Regions from separate parts of the Homo sapiens genome. Here all the other regions are linked to region 2. The links are contacts of gene promoters, found by promoter capture Hi-C in blood cells and fetal thymus (Javierre and others, 2016). All regions are on one chromosome and are shown on one strand. Each heading gives the region's core, a stretch centred on a gene start or on the middle of the fragment in contact. The rest is flanking DNA. Distances are from core to core; before and after follow the strand shown.

What was found. The method cuts DNA at HindIII sites, captures the fragments that hold promoters and counts their contacts. A CHiCAGO score of 5 or more calls a contact.
Region 1: a contact is called between a fragment that was not itself captured here and the fragment with the promoter of TEP1 in region 2, in 10 of 17 cell types (naive B cells, naive CD8 T cells, megakaryocytes and 7 more). The highest score is 11.8, in naive B cells.
Region 3: a fragment that was not itself captured here is called in contact with the fragment with the promoter of TEP1 in region 2 in 17 of 17 cell types (naive CD4 T cells, naive B cells, megakaryocytes and 14 more); the score reaches 18.2 in naive CD4 T cells.
Region 4: a contact is called between a fragment that was not itself captured here and the fragment with the promoter of TEP1 in region 2, in 9 of 17 cell types (naive B cells, non-activated CD4 T cells, total CD8 T cells and 6 more). The highest score is 6.8, in naive B cells.
Region 5: a fragment that was not itself captured here is called in contact with the fragment with the promoter of TEP1 in region 2 in 13 of 17 cell types (naive B cells, naive CD8 T cells, erythroblasts and 10 more); the score reaches 12.2 in naive B cells.
Region 6: a fragment that was not itself captured here is called in contact with the fragment with the promoter of TEP1 in region 2 in 13 of 17 cell types (naive B cells, naive CD4 T cells, total CD8 T cells and 10 more); the score reaches 10.1 in naive B cells.
Region 7: a contact is called between a fragment that was not itself captured here and the fragment with the promoter of TEP1 in region 2, in 16 of 17 cell types (megakaryocytes, naive CD4 T cells, naive CD8 T cells and 13 more). The highest score is 26.4, in megakaryocytes.

Annotation. Positions count from the first base shown.
Region 1 is chr14:20,572,763-20,575,462 of GRCh38, reverse strand. No RefSeq gene overlaps it. Among named protein-coding and RNA genes, the nearest start is that of RNASE9, 13 kb to the right of the region's middle. The HindIII fragment of the contact is 1,475 bases long and covers 572-2,046 here.
Region 2 is chr14:20,411,876-20,414,858 of GRCh38, reverse strand. It overlaps TEP1 (telomerase associated protein 1), which reads left to right and starts at 1,358. Exons shown (of 55, transcript NM_007110.5): 1 at 1,358-1,454. RefSeq lists enhancers at 1,155-1,204, 1,705-1,774, 2,325-2,494, 1,604-2,520. The HindIII fragment of the contact is 9,686 bases long and covers 1-2,796 here.
Region 3 is chr14:20,616,414-20,619,113 of GRCh38, reverse strand. It overlaps the pseudogene RPS26P9. Among named protein-coding and RNA genes, the nearest start is that of TRT-TGT3-1, 3.9 kb to the right of the region's middle. The HindIII fragment of the contact is 1,926 bases long and covers 470-2,395 here.
Region 4 is chr14:20,652,221-20,655,156 of GRCh38, reverse strand. TRY-GTA5-3 (tRNA-Tyr (anticodon GTA) 5-3) reads left to right here and starts at 1,965; the gene lies at 1,965-2,058. LOC124903281 (a long non-coding RNA gene) reads right to left here and starts at 1,845. Exons shown (of 2, transcript XR_007064059.1): 1 at 1,667-1,845. The HindIII fragment of the contact is 845 bases long and covers 1,047-1,891 here.
Region 5 is chr14:20,635,379-20,638,355 of GRCh38, reverse strand. No RefSeq gene overlaps it. Among named protein-coding and RNA genes, the nearest start is that of TRP-TGG1-1, 3.9 kb to the right of the region's middle. The HindIII fragment of the contact is 1,723 bases long and covers 834-2,556 here.
Region 6 is chr14:20,552,803-20,555,556 of GRCh38, reverse strand. No RefSeq gene overlaps it. Among named protein-coding and RNA genes, the nearest start is that of RNASE9, 6.9 kb to the left of the region's middle. The HindIII fragment of the contact is 1,885 bases long and covers 537-2,421 here.
Region 7 is chr14:20,599,945-20,602,958 of GRCh38, reverse strand. It overlaps RNASE11-AS1 (RNASE11 and RNASE12 antisense RNA 1), which reads right to left. Exons shown (of 5, transcript NR_122043.1): 4 at 177-296. Among named protein-coding and RNA genes, the nearest start is that of TRP-AGG2-5, 8.0 kb to the left of the region's middle. The HindIII fragment of the contact is 8,760 bases long and covers 1-3,014 here.

The DNA of each region.
Region 1 (2,700 bases), core at 60-2,559, 160 kb before region 2:
TTTGCCTGTGTAGAATTCAGTTGTGGTAACTGTTTCTCTGTTAATTCTGAAATTTGTAATTGCTCTGGTTCGGTTTCCATTGACTGATTGTTCTCCTCATAAAGGTTTGTGTTTTCCTGCTCTTTTACATGCTTGGTAATCTTTGATTGGATTTCAGATGTTTTGAATTCTACATTGTTGGCTTACCTTGTAGGAATATTTGTATATTCCTATAAATCTTCTTGAGTGTTGTTCAAGGATACGTTTAAGCTACTTGGAACCACTTTGATCCTTTTGGATCTTGACTTTATGATTTGTTAGACAGCTCTGAAGAAGCGCTTAGTCCGGAGTTAATTATCGACCACTACTACCCAGATTAAGGGTGGGTCTGCCTGTCCCAGCCCACTGACTCAAATGTTAATCTCCTTTGGCAACACCCTCACAGACACACCCAGGATCAATCATTTACATCCTTCAATCCAATCAAGTTGACACTCGGTATTGACCATTACAGGAGCCCTGTGCAGATCTCTAAGGTTATGTCTCCATGCAGCTTTCTCATCTCACATGTTCTATCCTAAAGGCTCAAGCTTCTTTGACCTCTCAGTTTCATGTCCTGAACTCAGGTAGTCTGAAGACTCTAAGTTTACTCTTCCTTTACTTTTGCCTAAAATCTCTATAGACAGCAAGCTGAGTGATTGTAGGGCTCACCTTGTTTGGTTCCTCTCTCTCAATGATGAGTGTGTTTCGTGGCCTCAAGTTCAGTGTCTTGAAAATAAGTTTTAATGCTTTTTGTTAGTTTTTTTATGGTTTTGGATGGGGAAGTAAATCAGGTCTGTGTTATCCATCTTGGCTGGAAGATGTTCCCAGTCTTTTTTTTTTTCCTTTCTTTTTTAATTAATACATTATAATTGTATCTACTTATGAGATACACTGGATACTTCGATACATGCATACAATGTGTAATATCAAATTAGGGTAACTAGGATATCCACTACCTCAAACATTTATCATTTCTTTGTGTTGGGAACATTCCAAGTCTTTTCTTCTAGCTATTTTGAAATGTACAATAAATTATTGGTAACTATAGTCACCCTACTATGCTATTGAATGCTAGAAATTATTCCTTCTACTTAACTGTATTTTTTCTACCCATTAACTAGCCTTTCTTACCCCTCCTTTCCCACCCTTTCCCAGTCTCTGGTAACCATCATTCTACTTTCTACCTCCATGGGATCAACTTTTTGAGCTCCTGGATATGAATGAAATGTACAATATTTGTCTTTCTGTGACTGACTTATTTCACTTCACATAATGACCTCCAGTTCCATCCATGTTGCTGCAAATGACAGAAGTTCATTGTTTTTTTTATGGCTGAATAGTATTCCATTGTTTATATATATTACATTGTCTTTATTTGTTAATACATTGATGGGCACTTAGGTTAATTCTATAACTGGGCTATTGTAAATAGTGTTGCAATAAACATAAGCGTGCAGATACCACTTTGATATATTGATTTCCTTTCTTTTGGGTATATACCCAGCAGTGGGATTGCTGGATCATTTGTTAGTTTTATTTTTAGTTTTTTAAGGCATCTCCATACTGTTCTCTATAGTGGCTATACTAATTTACATTCCTACCAGTAGTGTATGAACATTCCCCTTTCTCCACATCCTCACCAGAATCTGCTATATATTTTTCTTTTTGATAATAGCTATATTAACTGGGGAGAGGTAACATCTCATTTGAGGACTAAGCTCTGATTTTTTTTTATCTTACCTAAATTCCTATCTAAGGGGTCTAGGGAGTCATGCCCTACAAACCATAAATTATCATCAGATGAGTTTTGTTTAACCCTATATATCGTGACTTACTTTCCAATCTGACTCTGGCATAACATTATGAGACAAGGAAGAAAACAAAGATATTTTACCCCAAAACATGTGTTGGTCAAGGTTCCCTAGAGGGACATAACTAATAGGATTGATATATATATATAAAGGGGAGTTTATTAAGTATTAACTTACATGATCATAAGATCCCACAATAGGCTATCTGCAAGCTTGAGCAGCAAGGAAAGCCAGTCGGAGTCTCAAAACTGAAGAGCTTGGAGTCTGATGTTTGAGGGCAGGAAGCATCCAGCGCGGGAGAAAGATGTAGGCTGGGAGCCTAGGCCAGTCTCGCCTTGTCACATTTTTCTGCCTGCTGATTAGATTGTGCCCACCAGATTAAGGGTGGGTGGGTCTGCCCCTCGCCAAAAGTCAATGTCCTTTGACAACACCCTCACAGACACACCCAGGATCAATACTTTGCATCCTTCAATCCAATCAAGTTGACACTCAGTAACAACCATCACAAGTCCACCGCTTGTCAACTTGAATCCATACGCATCTCCTGAGAACACACATAATCTTCAAATAAAGACAATAATAAGGTTATAATTATGCCTAACATAATACAACTATCCTTCATACAATTGGAAACGCACCAATCTCCAACCCAAATACTATTACATAAAGTTAACAATACTTACATGCTGATATGAAGTCAATAAATCTTATGTCACATGATAAAGGAAATAAAATGAAGATATTTTCTTAGTAATAGTGTATACATGCACAAACATGCATTTAACAAAAGAAGGAGGAAATACTCATGACAGTTACAGTCCTTGTTTCTGCAGCTGGTCACGTGGTCATAGCTGGTATTGATGACCTT
Region 2 (2,983 bases), core at 109-2,608:
CAACATAGCAAAACCCTGTCTCTACTTTTTGTCTTTAAATTTTGGTTTAAAATTGTGCGTGGGGGTAAGTTACATTCTTTACGAATTATGTTTCAGAAAAATAAAAAGAGCTTTAAAATATTTGTTATAAAAAGGAAATGTTTTAGTTCAGGTTGCTATAACAAATTACCGTAGACCGGGTGGCTTAAACAACAAATATTATTTCTCACAGTTCTAGAGAATGGAAGTCCAAGATCAGATTGCCAGCATGGTCTGCCTCTGAAGATGAGGGTCTTCCTTGGGATTGCAGATGGCTGTTTTCTTGTATCCTCATATCGTGGAAAAAGAGCTAGCTAGCTCTTCCGTCTCTCCTTATGAGGCCACCAATCCCATTTATGAGTATTCTAAACTCCATGACCTAATGACCTCCCAGAGATCCCACCCTAAATACCATCGCATTGGGATTAGGGTTTCAATATATAAATTTTGGGGAGACACAAACATAAAGACCATTGCAGGGAGTGTTGGGACTGGTGGCAATAGAGGTTTCTAAGGAAGGAAAGGGGTACTGGCTCAGTTAATAGAGGACAGAATGCCCTCAATTCTGAGCGGAAGCTCAGCTGTTACCTGAGACTCAAGGGTACCTCTCTAAGGAAAGCAATGATATTTTCCAGAAGACAGCTAATCTGCTTTATATAAAGGCAGAAAGCATATTTCTCCTGCTACTATGTTTGGTCCTCTCTTTATGAAGCTAGGATTATTAACCTAAGGGTCACTTGTCTCTTTCCTAAGCCTGGTTCCATCTTCCTGGAAAGGGTTCAGCATTAATCATTCAGGATGGCTCCAGATAGATTCTGTGTGATCCACGGATCTCTCTTCTGATCAACAGGAGGGGAGGCACTTGCTCTCAGTTCAGCGAACTTTGATTGACTGATGTCTACACTTGGTTACAGGCGGTTGCTTTCCGCTTTCCGTCTCCTTTTAAGGAGTTCCTCAAAGGAACTTTAGGATGAATTGAGTCTGACCGTCTTTGATATTAGGAAGGAGAGGTGTACAGCTAGGCAGCGAGCATGCTAAAATCTTTTCCAGGAAACGGTGTTTGAAGAGTTAATGGGAGAAAAAAAGACGAAAATTAGCCAGAGGAGACGAATTTGGTAGAGGGGGAAGCCCTAGGGACAGGAGAAAATAGGACCAGAAAGGGAAAAAAAATAGAAACAATAACAAACTAAACTCGGGCCCCAGAAAAGGCGGCAGGGGTCCTGGGCATTCGCGTCGCAGCCCTGGCATGTCGTCTTGCCCGGCCCTCGGCTCGCTGCCCTTCCAGCAGCTGCTGCGCCCCGCCCGGGCCCGAGAGTCTCCGCCCGCACCGTCTCTTCTCAGATCCGCATCCGGCTCCTCCCCCGGCTGCCACCCTTCCCACCGGCAGAATCCAGAGCGAAGTTTCTGCTTCCTGCTGCGGGAATCGGACGCCCCAGGTCAGGCACCCAGGGTTTCCAGCCCCAGTCTAAGGTAGGGTCCGAGCGCAGGCAGAACTTGCCCTGGCCCTGGGTCTAGGGCGCTGGGCTCTGAGGCTGAGAGCTGGGTGGGAAGTGCCTGGCGGGGCCGGTTAGGAACCACCCGAGACTCAGCTAGGGGTGCATCCACCCTGCTCCTCCCGGCGGCTCCGGGAAGGGGAGGGAGTGTATACTGCGTGAAAGGGGAGGTGAGAAAGGAGGAGGAGAAGGCTGAAGGAGAGGGAGGGACAGGAAGAGAGACCACGTAAGAATCATCCCCTCTTACTTCCTTGCCCTGTGTGCCCATCGAAAGGGGACAGTGGCTGTCACCAACAAATGGTAGTATGAGAACCGTTTGTGATAATAGAAACCCAGACTGTGCTTAAATGTGCTAGACTACCATACAGCCACTTGAAGAGTGAGGTGGAGGCCGGGCGCGGTGGTTCACGCCTGTAATCCCAGCACTTTGGGAGGCGGAGGTTGGGGATCACCTGAGGTCAGGAGTTTGAGACCAGCCTGACCAACATGGTGAAAACCCTCTCTACTGAAAATACAAAAAAATTAGCCGGGCATGGTGGTGGGCGCCTGTAATCCCAGTTACTCGGAAGGCTAAGGCAGGAGAATCGCTTGAACTCGGCAGGCAGAGATTGCAGTGAGCTGAACAACAGAGCCAGACTCCGCCTCAAAAAAAAAAAAAAAAAAAAAAGGAAAGAGTGAGGTGGGTATTAATGTGTTAACAGGGCAAGGTCTCTGAGATATACTAAGTGCAGAATAGCATCTAACTTATGATCCTGTTTGTGTAAAGCAAAAGCAAAAGCAGTGGTGATGGTGAAGGCATGTATTTGCATATGCATAGAAACTGTGAAACTGTTAGTATAAAACTGTGAGCAATGTTTACTTCCAGAGAAGGGAACTAGAGATGGAAGTGGGGACGGAACTTTAACTTTCCATTTGTGGTTCAGCCGAATCTCCTTTCAAAAACTCCAGGGTGCAAAACAATAAAATGAGCAAAATAGTGAGACTGTCCTTTTAAGGATAGGACAGTCTCACTATGTTGCTCAAATAAACTGTCCTTATTTTTCTGTTTATTTTTGGCTTGAGATCTCTTTTAAAAAAAATCTGAGTCAATTCTGAGTTTCCCCACTCCTTTCCTTGGGGGCTTATATAGGGCAACGACATGAGCAAAGTGTATTGGGCACAGAAGCCATCATTTTTTACGTGTTTGTCACACTGACGTCCAGTGAGATATTGTTGTCCTTTTTGGCCCTGGATTGTTAGTCATTCAGGTCTTCTTGGAAGTGTTCTGTACTTTTGTCCCTAAGCTTTTTCACACTAAGTTTAGGTGGTTGACTTAACAATATTATTCCCAAAATATTTACATATGAATGAGAGATTAGCCTTTGTCCAAATAAGTAAGAAAATACATTCCTTTTTTTTTTTAAATAGAGGTCTCACTATGTTGCCCAGGCTGGTCTTGAACTCCTGACCTCAAGTGATTCTCCCACCTCAGC
Region 3 (2,700 bases), core at 183-2,682, 200 kb before region 2:
CAGCTTCTCAGTGAACACACAGGAGTGTTTATAATGGGTTTAAACATTTGAGGCAAGCCAGTGGGGTGCATGTGCCAGGAAGCCTTTTGGGTCTCGGAAATAGAATCTTGCCCACTTCACATCCACCAAATAAATCTGTGCTTATCATTTGATCAGGTTTGGGGAGGAGCAGAAGACAAACAAGAATATTATCCTTGCTCATTGGGAACTTGAATTTGAATAAAAGAAAATATCTTCTCCACCTTTTACAATATATACAATACAAACCTAGAAGAATGAACAAACACACAGAGACACACACTACAGTTAGATGGCAATACAAGTGGTAACTGATAATCACCAGAGTGAGTGTAGCCTCAGTTTCCAGAAGGTAAGATGTCTGTGGAAATCTGAAGAAAACTTTGAGAAAGTACAAATCGAGGCAAGTACGTGTGTGTGTGTGTGTGTGTGTGTGTGTGTGGCTAAAGCTTTGCAAACTCACGTTCCTTGATGTCTGAGATAAACAGTCTATGTATCTTGGAAACCAGTATGCCTGTCATAGGTGTTCGTGGATGTTGTTACAGTGAATAATTGGTTGAGTCCTGGTAATTGTGCCTACTTTTCTGGGATATAAATTCCTGACCTTTAAAAATATTCTATAGCCAATGAAGCTGAAAATTACAAAGTCTTCCCCAAAGGATGACATAATAGTTTCCTTTTCTGAACAGAAGCTCCTTGAAATAGTGCACTGTCATGTAAATAAGTATCAGTCATTAGACTTCATTCTTCCTGCTTGGTTTACTAGAAATTCAGTCCTACCTAGACCCTAGACAATCTATCCTGGAAAATTAGTAGTAGGGTCCTTGACAAAAATATTTAAGCTGAATCTAATCATGAGGAAATAAGTAAATATTGAACTGAATCTTATATGAGGAAATAATCACATTCAGAATGTGAGACTTCCTGTAAGACAACTGCCATGAGAAAAGAAAGTCTAAGAGGAGGGGAATTTTCTAGATTAAAAGAGACCAAAGAGATGTTACAACTAAATGCAGTGAGATATATTGTTAGAATTTACATTATTTTAATAGGGAGTGGGTAAGTGGGGAAATCTGAATATGGACTGTATGTCTACTAGCATATAAGGAATTATAAATTTTCTTGGGTGTGTTATGGTACTAATATTCTGCTCTTGGATAGTACATGTAAACAGGGGGAAGGGTAGGTAAGAAGGATGCAAATGTTCCTAATAATGGGTGTTCTAGTTAAAGGGTATACAGGTTTTACCGTACCGTTTTTTTAACTTTTCCCTAGGGTATTACTATACAAACAGACAGTGGCCAGAACATATATAAAAATAGACCTCTGACCAGCACTAACCTACAACAGCCAGTGCAGGAAGTCAACCCACAGTGACCAGCACAGGAAGCCAGCCCATTATCTCTCTCTCTCTTTTATTTATTTATTTTTTTGAGACGGATTTTCACTCTTGTTGCCCAGGCTGGAGTGCAATGGCACTATCTTGGCTCACCGCCTATCACTGGCTATCTCTGCCTCCTGGGTTCAAGCAATCCTCTTGCCTCAGCCTCCTGAGTAGCTGGGATTACAGGTATGCACCACCACGCCAGGCTAATTTTGTATTTTTAGTAGAGACAGGGTTTCACCATTTTGGTCACGCTGGTCTCGAACTCCTGACCCTCAGGTGATCCGCCTGCCTCAGCCTCCCAGAGTGCTGGGATTACAGGCGTGAACCACAGCGCCCGGCCAGTCCATTGCCTTTAAGCCAGACTTTTAGGAAGTCAGACCACTATCTCTAAGCAACCAGCCCAGGAAGCCAAACAATAACCTCTGTAAAAACCAGACCCAGTGGCTAGGAATTTATGAATAATTAACACCTTTCCTATTATTTGTTTCTGTTTCCAAGTTAGCATCAACCAGAGAAAGCCAAATATGCATCCCTAACCAATCACATAGGATGCCCCGCTTCTAGTTAGCCTGCCCACCGTGTCCCCATGCCACAGTCTCCAGTCAGGGCACACTTGAAGGCTTCCCTTTGTCCACTATAAAGTTTTCCCACTCCTCTGCTTGCCTTTGAGTCTCTGCCAAATCACAAGTGACGTTCTTTTGGGTCCCCACTTCCAAGATGGCAAAGAAAAGAAATAACAATGGTCATGCCAAAAAGGGCCACAGCCACGTGCAGCCTATTTGCTACATGAATTATGCCCTATGCCTACCCAAAGGCAAGACTATTAAGAAGTTCATCATTCAAAACGTAGTAGAGACTGCACCTGTCAGGGACATTTCTGAAGCTAGTATCTTTGACGCCTATGGGCTTCCCAAGTTGTTCGTGAAATTCTGTTACGGTGGGAGTTGTGTCATTCACAGCAAGGTAGACAGGAATTAATCTTGTGAAGCTTGCAAGGACCGAACACCGCCACCCTGATTCAGACCTATGGGTGCTGCCACATGACCCCTACCAAAGCCCATATAAGAAGGTGAGTCCTTAAGGATTGAAGAAAAACTCTCTCTAGAGAAAAATAATATGGAAATTATATTTTTAAAAAATCACAAGTGAAGGCTGCTAACTCCTTTGCTATAGAAAGCTCTGAATAGCTTTTGCTGGTTCTCATTAACTGGTGTTCATTTATTTCCACATTAGGATTAAAGTTTTTCCAAATGAAAAGTTGAGGGGAAATGGAAGAAATACAGACAAACAACAAA
Region 4 (2,936 bases), core at 220-2,719, 240 kb before region 2:
TCAGGACCCTGTAATAATTGCGTTAAGTACACAAATTGTACAGCATGTGTGTTTGAGCAATATGAAATGTGGGCACCCTGAAAAAAGAACAGTATAACAGCAATGTTCAGGGAATAAGAGAGATAACCTTAAACTCTGACCGCCGGTGAGCCGGGGGGAACAGAGCCATATTTCTCTTCTTTCAAAAGCAAACGGGAGAAATATCGCTGAATTCCTTTTCTCAGCATGGAACGTCCCTGAGAAAGAGAATGCGCACCTAGGGGTAGGTCTCTGAACTGGCCCCCCCCGGGGCGTACCTGTCTCTTATGGTCGAGATTGCAGAGGTGAAATAAACTCCAGTCTCCCATAGCACTCCCAGGCTTATTAGGAAGAGGAAATTCCCGCCTAATAAACTTTGGTCAGACCGGTTGATCTCAAAACCCTGTCTCCTGATAAGATGTTATCAATGACAATGGTGCCAAAACTTCATTAGCAATTTTAATTTCACTTCGGTCCTGTGGTCCTGTGATCTCGCCCTGTCTCCACTTGCCTTGTGATATTCTATTACCCTGTTAAGTACTTGATGTCTGTCACCGACACCTATTCGTATCTCCCTCCCCTTTTGAAACTCCCTAATAAAAACTTGCTGGTTTTTGTGGCTTGTGGGGCATCACGGATCCTACCAATGTGTGATGTCTCCCCCGGATGCCCAGCTTTAAAATTTCTCTCTTTTGTACTCTGTCCTTTTATTTCTCAAGCCAGTCGATGCTTAGGAAAATAGAAAAGAACCTACATGATTATCGGGGCAGGTCCCCCGATATAGTGACACACACCAGATAAGATCTGAAACATTGTCAAACACATGGGGTCAGGGTAAGCAGTCCAACACTGACACTTCTGTCTTCTACTTCACCCATCCCCTATTTTTTTTTTTTTTTTTTAGACAGGGTCTCTTCTGTCACCCAGGCTAGAATTCAGGGGCATAATCATAGCTCACTGTAGCCTTGAACTCCTGGCCTCAAGCAATCCTCCCACCTCAGCCTCCCAAGTAGCTGGGACTACAAGCTTGTGCTACCACACCCAGCTAATTTTTGTAATTTTTGTAAAGATAAGGTTTTGCCGTGTTGCTCAGGCTGGTCCTTGCCCCTTTGCTTTTTCAGAGCCCACAGAGCCTTGTCCTACTTCTAGAAGTTGCAAGTGGCAAAATATTTCTGATTGGTTTGCAGAGGAGGGAAGCCAACCACCAGATTGGCCCCGAGGGAGGAGGGGTATTACATGTGCCTCTGCAATCCCTGGGAGGGGTCTCCTCACCTAATTCTATTTGTTCTTTCCCTCACTTCCCAGTACACCTCAACGGGCCAATACGTGAACTTAGGATACTGTAGGTAGAAGGCAGAAAGCGCATCGGGAGGAAGAACGGGGGTGGGGGATGAGGGGGTGGGAGAGCAGTGGAAGGTGTAGGGAGGTCAGAGTGTTAGGGAAGGGCCTCATTACCGGCCACCACCAGACCCTGCGGCTCGGCTGGGGTTGGAAGCCTTCTACCAGTGTCCATTCCAGGTCTCCTCCTTTCTCCTCCAGCAACCCTTCCCTCACCGGACCCCCGCACCCTGCATCCACCTCGCCAACCCCTCTGCCTCTCACCCTCTCACTTTTTTTTTTTTTTGCCACTGAGGTCTGTCATCCTCACCTGTAGAAAGGGGGATGCACAGGAGGAAGAAGATAGCAAGTGAGAGCACACTCCCACCACTACCCCCACGCCCCCTACCCGGCTCGCCCCTCATGGGTCGTTGTTATCGATGCCGGGGAAAGCCAGTCAACCACAGCCAGAGGATTTTGTTCCGCCGCAAAAGGAGCGCGGTGGCGATCGGCGCAGGATTATCTCTCTAAGGCGAGTTCCAACCAACTTAAAGCTTATTGGACGACTAGAGTTGCAAGGAGTCTTGCATTTGCTGAAAGATCAATGACCCAACCCCAGAAACGTGCGCCCTTCGATAGCTCAGCTGGTAGAGCGGAGGACTGTAGCCTGTAGAAACATTTGTGGACATCCTTAGGTCGCTGGTTCGATTCCGGCTCGAAGGAGCTGCCGTATTCTTTTGCACACGCACGCACCAAAACTACGTGGCTGCATCTCTGCCTGGTCAAAGGCTTTGCCAGCCAGCATCCACACTCTCCCAGGAGAAACCTAGCAAGGCCTTTCCGGATTACCCAGCTTCCCACAGCCTATGCTGTGGCCTTGGGAGTCTGCTCATTCTTCAAGTCATTGCTTTCTCTACTATCTTCAAATTTTTTATATAATCTGGGATTTTTATCTCCAAGTCATTGATTTTTATGGCCATTAGGTGACACTATAACTGATATTCTTATGAAACTAGATGAAATATTTGAATAACATGTTAGAAAATTGAATTCATGTATATTAAAACAATGTCTTAACAATTATTTACATTTACATATAAGTTCTATTTCTTTCCTTGCTCATAAATTTTTTGCATCTCACTGTTTTGTGATTTTATTTTTTATTTTCAGGAGTTCAACCTTGAGCAATTCCTTTAGAATGCATCCATGGATCTTAATGAAGATATAAGTTCTAGAACACCCCCCAACCAAGTGCCCTCAATGTAAACTCTCTTTTGACTGCTATTTATGCTGAAAATAGAATTGGAGGTATTATGGGCTGAACTGTGTCTTTACAAAATTTAATATGCTAAAGCCCCAATCACCATACACCAGAATGTGACTATAGGATAGCACCTTTAACATGGTGATTAAGTTAGAGGCTGTTAGGGTGTGCCATAATCCAATCTGACTAATACCCTTATAAGAAGAAAAAAATCTGGACACAGAGAGACACCAGAGATGTATGCAAATAAAGGATGAACTGTGTAAGGACAGAGAGAGAAGGTAGCCATCTGCAAGCCAAAGAGAGGTCTCAGAAACCAGTAGCTTGATCTTGGGCT
Region 5 (2,977 bases), core at 446-2,945, 220 kb before region 2:
ACCTAGTTTCATGAAACATAAAAATCTGAAGTCTATTCCAGCCACTGGCCAAGGAAAGGAATTCATGCAACAATTTACAGCATTTCTTGAAGTAATTGCCACATATTATGGCAATAAAGCATGTTAAACCATCCATTTTCAACATGTGTTTCATTGTGAAAAATAACTTTGGGCTCAATTTAATTCAATAAAATTTGTTGAATACTGTGTTCTAGGAAGTAAGTTGGTATGTTAGAGGTACAAATATTGGCCCCTGCCATCAAGGAATTCATAGACTTTTGGGGTAGACATAATACATATGAATATATAAATATATAATTTTTTTTCTGTTTTTGAGATGGAGTCTTACTCTGTTGTCCGGGCTGGAAACCAATGGCGTGATCTCAGCTCACTGCAACCTCTGCCTCCCGGGTTCAAGCGATTCTCCTGCCTCAGCCTCCCGAGTAGCTGGGATTATAGGCACGTGCCACCACACCCAGCTAATTTTGTATTTTTAGCAGAGACGGGGTTTATCCTTGTTGGTCAGGCTGGTCTGGAACTCCCGACCTCAGGTGATCTGCTAGCCTCACCCTCCCCAAAGTGCTGGGATTACAAGCGTGAGCCACCGCGCCTGGCTTCGAATTTCTATAAAGGTACCATGACAAGCGTCTTTATTCATACTATTATATGAAATAAATTTGCCTGAAATTTTGGTATGATGGTATGTGTAGATTGAGTGCGCATGTGAATGTGTGCATGCATATAACAGTGATACAAACTTGTGTGTCCATGAAAGTTTGTGATTAAATAAAAGAATAAATAAAAATCTGTTTATTGATATTTATTTCTAAGCTTTCCTTTCAAAGATCTTACCTTCATTGACATGAAATTTGTATTTTGTTTTTAAACATACAGTTAAGACAGAATATACTTAATTTAGAAGAAGTAGAAAATGCTTCTGTTTGCATCATTTTACATATAAAACTCTGAATAAGGCCAGGTGCAGTGGCTCACGCCTACAATCCCAGCATGCTGGGAAGCCAACAAGGGGGATTGTTTGAGCCTGGGATTTCGAGGCTACAGTCAGCCAAGATCGCATCACTGCACTCCAGCCTGGGCCAAAGGGTGAGACCTGGTCTCAAAAATTAAATAAATAAATGAAGCTCTTAATGACATCATTGATAATGACAATGATGCTAAACTCAGCAAGCATATGTTACTCTTTATACTTACCTCAGCAGAGTTTGGCACAACTGATCTTGTCCTCTTATTTGAAATAGTCAATGTGTTCTTTGTTATTTATTTATTTTATTTCAATTGTTTTGGGGGAACAGGTAGTTTTTGGTTACATGAAGTTCTTTAGCGGTGATTTCTGAGATTTTGGTGCACCCATCACCCGAGCAGTGTATACTGTAGGCAATATGGAGTCTTTTATCTTTTAGTGCCCTCCCACCATTTCCCCAAGTTCCCAAAGTCCATTATTTCCTCCTTATGCCTTTGCATCCTCATAGCTTAGCTCTCACTTGTAAGTGAGAACATACAATATTTGGTTTTCCATTCCTGAGTTATTTCACTTACAATAATGGTCTCCAACTCCATCCAATGCCATTATTTTGTTTCTTTTTATGGCTGAGTAGTATTCCATGGTGTATATGTACCACTTTATTTTTGTTTTTTTGAGCCGGAGTCTCACTCTGACACCCAGGCAGGAGTGCAGTGGCACGTTCTTGGCTCACTGTAACCTCTGCCTCCTGGATTCAAATGATTCTCCTGCCTCAGCCTCGCGAGTAGCTGGGATTACAGGCATGCACCACCATAGCTGGTTAGTAGAGACAGGGTTTCACCATGTTGGCCAGGCTGGTCTCTAACTCCTGGCCTCAAGTGATCCACCCACCTCCATCTCCCAAAGTGCTGGAATTACAGGCGTGAGTCACCATGCCCGGCCAATATAGCACATTTTCTTTATCCACTCATTTGTTGATGGACATTTATGTTGCTTCCATATTTTTGCACTTGCAAATTGTGCTGCTGTAAATAAACATGTGTATGCAAGTGTCTTTTTCATATAATGCCTTCTATTCCTTTGGGTAGATACTCAGTCGTGGGATTGGTGGATTGAATGGTAGTTCTACTTTCAGTTCTTTAAGGAATCTCCATATTGTTTTCCATAGTGGTTGTACTAGTTTACATTCCCACCAGCAGTGTACAAAATGTTCCTTTTTTTACCACATCCACCCCAACATCTATTATTTTTTGATTTTTAAATTATGGCCATTCTTGCAGGAGCAAGGTGGTATCTCACTGTGGTTTTAATTTGCATTTCCCTGATAATTAGTGATGTTGAGTATTTTTTCATGTTTATTGGCCACTTGTATATCTCCTTTTGAGAAATGTCTATTCATGTCCTTTGCCCACTTTTTCATGGGATTATTTACTTTTTTCTTGCTGATTTGTTTTATTTCCTTGTAGATTCTGGATATTTGAATCCTGTGTTGGATGCATAGTTCGTGAATATTTTCTCTCACTCTGTGGGTTGTCTTTTACTCTGCTGATTATTTCTTTTGCTATGCAGAAGCTTTTTAGTTTAATTAGGTCTCATTTATTTTTGTTTTTGCTGCATTTGCTTTTGGGTTCTTGGTAATGAATTATTTGCCTAAGTCAATGTTTAGAAGAGTTTTTCTGATGCTATCTTCTAGAATTTTTATGATTTCAGGTCTTTGATCCATCTTGAGTTGATTTTTGTATAAGATGAGAGATGAGAATCCAATATCATTCCTTTACATATGGCTTGCCAATTATCCCAGCACCATTTGTTGAATAGGGCGTCCTTTCCCCACTTATGTTTTTGTATGCTTTGTCAAAGATTAGTTGACTGTAAGTAGTTGGTTTTTTTTCTGGGTTCTCTATTCTGTTACATTGGTCTACATGTTTTGTTTTGTTTTACTGGTACCACGCTGTTTTGGTAACTGTAGCCTTGCAGTATAGTTTGAAGACAGGT
Region 6 (2,754 bases), core at 230-2,729, 140 kb before region 2:
TGCCCAGGCTGGAGTGCAATGGCGCGATCTTGGCTCATTGCAACTCCGCCTCCCAGGTTCAAGCGATTCTCCTGCCTCAGCCTCCCTAGTAGCTGGGATTACAGGCATGTGCCACCACGCCTGGTTAATTTTGTATTTTTAGTAGAGACGGGGTTTCTTCATGTTAGTCAGGCTGGTCTCGAACTCCCGACTTCAGGTGATACGCCCACCTTGGCCTCCCAAAGTGCTGGGATTACAGGCTTGAGCCACTGCGCCCGGCCTTCTTCAAACTTCTTAACATCTTGTTATTATTACTGCTTAAAACTTTCTGAAACTGGGGTAAAGAGTAGTAATGGGGGATGGTAGTGAGGCATCCATTGCTCTTTGCATGCTTTACCCCAGTCCAGTCTGTTAGTCTCCTCCCATTCCTTACCCCTGTCTTTATACTCAGAGCTGAGCTCCTAATTTATCAATAGGTTGATGTAAGTAAGGGCCTAGAACGAAGGACGGCTAGACTCCATTTTAGTGTCTAAGGGAGGAACACAGGAAATCAAGCTTCTAGGCACTTGTGATGGTTGATTTTCTGTGTCAACTTGACTGGGTTAAGGGATGCTCAGATACCTGGTAAAACGTTTTTTTCTAAGTGTAAGTGTGAGAGTGTTTCTGGAAAAGGTTAGCATTTAATCCATAGACTGAGTAAAGATCTCCCTCACCCATGCAGGTGGGCATCGTCCAATCTGTTAAGGGCCTAAATGGAACAAAAAGGCAGAGCAAGGGCAAATGGACTCTCTCTGCTTGAACTGAGACGTCCATCTTCTCCTGCCCTTGGACATCAGTGCTTCTGGTTCTTGGACCTTTATATTCAGACTAGAACTTATGACACTGGCTCTCCAGATTCTCGAACCTTTGGGTTTGGACTGGAACTCCATCACCAGCTTCCCAGCTTGCAGATGGCAAATTGTGGGGCTTCTCAGCCTCAGTAATTGTGTGGGCCAATTCCACATGACAAATCTCTTTCCATGTATCAATATATGCTCTATTAGTTCTTTTTCTCTGGAGAACCGTGACTAATAACAGCACCAATCTTCATTTGGAGGCACATGGCTTTTCATTGAAATGTCTGAGTGAATAAGGTACCATCCAACTTTTAGAAATCTCCATGACACCTTCTAAAACCCAACCTTTTGTACATGAGCTGAAGAAATTCTGCACATGGGCTAGCCTGGCTATGTTCTACAGACCATCTCTCTGGGTCATGTTCATCTCATTGATCTTGGAGGTTATACAACATAAAATATAAAATATATTTATAAGAATATGGCCAAGCGCAGTGGTTCACGCCTGTAATTCCAGCACTTTGGGAGGCTGAGGCAGGCGGATCACCTGAGCTCAGGAGTTCGAGACCAGCCTGGCCAAAATGGCGAAAACCTGTCTCTACTAAAAATACAAAAATTAGCCAGGCGTGGTGGCCCGTGCCTGTAATCCCAGCTACTCAGGAGGCTGAGACAGGAGAATCACTTGAACCTGGGAGGTGGAGGTTGCAGTGACCCGAGATTGCGCCACTGCACTCCAGTCTGGGTGACAGAGAGAGACTCCATCTCAAAAAAAAAAAAAAGAAAAAAAGAAAGATATGGTATAGTACAATAACTAAGACATGAAAACAATCACAATGAACTTTTCTCTCTCCAGAATAGAAAATCCGATCCAAATGCCTTTTAGAATTAGAATCATAGAAATAGAATGAGGCTCATTTGCACAGATTTCCCCCGTAGTCTAATATTGCACAAGAAACCAAGATCCTGGCCCCTATCCACCAGATTCCCTATGGTAAGTCCAAGCTGTAATTTCAGCTTCACTGATTATAATATTTCAAATAGTTATTGTCCAACATATATTAACACTCTATCCTCAATAATATCAAACTTCATTGTTAAAATGAACATTGTACACAACTTTGACTCACATAACAATTTATTATTTATGCTAGCGTTCCTTGAGATGATACCCCATTAATTATTTCAATTGTAATAAAATATACATGACATAAACTGACCATTTTAATCATGTTAAGTGTGCAGCTCAATAGCATTAGGTATATTCACATTGTTGTGCAACCATCACTGTGATCCATCTCCAGAACTTTTTTCATCTTACAAAACTAAAACTCTCTACTCACTTAAATAATAATTCCCCTTTCATCCTTTCCACCAGTTTCTGGCAACCACCATTCTCCTTTCTGTCTCTATGAATTTGACTGCTCCAGATACCTCATATAAGTAGACTCATACAGCATTTGTCCTTTTGTGACTTGCTTATTTCACTTGGCCTGATGTCTCCAAGTTTTACTCATGTGTCATAATTTTCTCCTTTTTGAAGGCTCAATAATATTCCATTGTATGTATATAACACATTTTGTTTATCCATTCATCCATTGAGGAAGCTTTGGTTGTTTTCACCATTTGGCTACTGTAAATGATGTTGCTATGAACATTGACAAACAAATATCTGTTTGAGTCCTTGTTTCCCATTTTTTTTTTTTTTTTGGTGTATATACGCATAAGTGGAATTGCTGGATCATATGGTAATTCTTTTTTTTTTTTTTTAAGAAACTACTATACTGTTTTCCACAGTGGCTGAACCATTTTACATTCCAATCAGTAGTGCACTAGGGTTCCAGTTTCTCAAAACCCTCATCAATACTTCTTTTTTTAATATCTAATAGCAATTTCAATGGATATGAAGTGGCGATGCAACACTAACTTTAAATTATACTTA
Region 7 (3,014 bases), core at 90-2,589, 190 kb before region 2:
CGTAGCTCCCTTTTTTGTTCACTGGTACAACAGTTTTATCATTTGAGTCAAATGGGGCACGAATACCCGCCAATACCCCACGAGGCCCACAACGGTCTGCAGTTGCCTCACCGTGGTGGGTCAGGGGCATGCCTGGATTTCGTCAATGATGGCCTCTGGTATGGCATTTGTCTTACCTGATCAAACAACTCCCAAGCATTTGGCAGACAATCCAGGCCCTTGGACCTTGGATGCATTGACATACCAACCGCACGCTGCCAACTCTTGCCACAAGAGGGGCATTGCTGCTTCTTAATCTGCAAGAGAATCAGAGGTTAACATGACACCATCAATGTAATGAAACAGGCAAACCCCTTTTGGACATTTCCAGGCATCTAAGTCCATGGCAACAAGATCATGACGAATGGTGGGGCTATGCACATAGCCCTGTGGCAGCACAGTAAACGTCCATTGCCACCCTTCCCATGTGAAGACAAATTATTTTTGGCTCTCTGGAGCAATGTCGATGGAGAAGAGTGCATTAGCTAAGTCCACTACAAAGTGGTACTGTCCCAGTTCCATTGTCAGGTGGTCCCTCAAATCCATGGTACAGCTGCATGCAGAGGGGGTGTCACCTTATTCAGCTCCTGGTAATCCACTCTCATCCTCCAAGTCCCATCAGGCTTTCTGACTGGACATCCCAGGGAACTGTAGGGGATATGGATGTCAGGCACTATTTGCACCTCCTCTAACTTCTTAATCGTCTTGGTTATCTCTGTATGCCCCTCTGACAAACGGTATTGATGAATGGAGGTAACCTGTCGGGGTTGTGGCAGAACTTGGGGCTGGTGATATGTATATGCCCACGCAGTACCGGCTTTACTACACGAACCTGGAGTCTGAATTCTCTGGCCGTGGTGTGTAAGTCCAGACCATGCAAAATGTCCACCCCCAGAATATATTCAGGTATAGGAGAAACATACATAGCGTACAGGCTGGAAGCCAAGCGGCCAATTCCAAGATGCAGAGACACAGGTTTCACTTTCACTGACTGGCCCGCATAACCATCAATGAATGCAGCTTTTCCTGGAAACTTATCCGGGTTCCCATAAACAAGACTGCAGTCTGCACCAGTATATACCAGTGCTAGGACCTGCTGTACACTGGTGGGGGACTAGTGGATTCCCAGTTCCACATGAGGCCTCCAGTCGTCCGGCGCCCCCCACCAAGCCAAGCACCTCGGCCAGTTCCCTAATCAAACAGGAAGGGCCCAGTCTCTTCACCAGTCTGCAAATCATCCTTGAGCTGCCGTGTCCCCGCGGGGCTGGGTTGAGCAACAGTATTTTGCCCCCTCGGGTATTTTCCGGAATTGCTGCTGGGGGTACAATTGCCTCCACAGAGCCAACAGCATTCCATTGGGTTTCCTCTCAGTTTCCTCCCGAGCAACCCCGGCTGCAAGTAAATCCATCCACATCTGCATGCGGGTCACCCGCTGGGGTCCCTTTTTATTTCGTGGGGTGGTTACCTGTGAAGGGGGCACCTTCCCCTTCTTTATGGCGCGGATTCCCCAATCCCGCTGATGGCCTTCTGCCTCCTCAAGGGCTGCCATAGCAGTAGTCACTTCATGTATGTGGCACCCCACATATGGAGTAAGAACAGCAGCTAGAGAGCCAAAAGCACTCAGAGGCTGCCAGTCAGCACAAGATCCCTCACGTGGGAGATAAAATGTTCATCATCTGGCCTCTAGGGATTCAGATCCAACATAGCCTGCCGCATGCCCATCTCCAGGAGTACCTGTACCAAATCAGCTATGATTGCCATTGACTCATAATTTCTGGTATCTCTCCAGCATCCTTCCTAACAGTCCATATGGCTGCCATCAGCCACTCAATTAACATGTGATCACCTTGCCCTTGTGCCAACCATCGGCACAGCTGCAGCCACTGATGAAGGGAGGGGTGAGTTATGATAGAAGCCAGCTTCTCCATCTCGGAGGCAGAGCAAGAAACGCTGTCAGCCCCCTCATCCCCAAAATGGGGTAGCCAGGCAGGGGGGGCTCCCCTGGGTGCTCCTTGCATTGCTTACCTAACTCCCAAAACTCAGTGGAAAGAGAAGCACTATAGGAGGTGTATTCCACCACTGCGGGGGGCCTCTGGGCTCTCCCCTAGGGTCCCATCAGCTGCTCATGTTCTACCTTCTGATGGATCACAGGACAAGCCCACAGCAGAGGAGCCTCCTCCTCAGGATCAGACCAAGCGCGAGTGTCCGGCCTGGAGGATGGGCTCAAGGTCATGCCAACAGTTATTTCCAGCTCCTGCTCCAGGCTGTTTATCTGAGCCTGTAAGCACCCTGCTTGCACCTGGAGGTCCTTTACACCCAGGTTTTGCTCCAAGCTGTGCATTTGGGCCCCCAGAGACCCAACTTAGGCCTGAAGGTCCTTTAGCTGTGCCATGTCCCGCAGGGACTGAGCGTATACTTCACGTAGTGCAGTCAGAAATGCCCATCCAACTCTGCTGGCGAAGGTGCACCCCTTCTTGGTGGTGTGAGCTTCCAGTTGCTTCAGTGCCTTCTTCACACTTGTGGGAGACCTGTCCACTGCCTCCCATGTTTCCACTGGGGCGCATCCAAGCAGCGCCTCTGCCACCGGGTACCACAGCTCATGCTGCAGCCACATAGTCTGGTTCTCTCACTGTGGAGTGTTCCTTACTCCACTCACCTTCCCCATTCTGCCTGGTGAACCTATGCATCCTTCCTTTCCTTAGACAAGCCTTCCCAGAAAACCCAGAACAAGTGAAGTAGTCTGTTTTGCTTGCATAAAACCCTGTAATTTCCCTTGCGGTCCTTATCACTAACATAATAAATTTATTATATTTCTTAGCTTTAAAAAATTGTCTGACTGTTTCTTGAGGGCAGAGACAACATCTGTCTGCTTTCCTGTAGAAATCTCTGTTCTAAGCACAGTGCCTGGAATACAATAAATGTTCAACAACTGTTTGCTCAATAAATATTGAGTAAATGTAATGCTGTATTTTCAT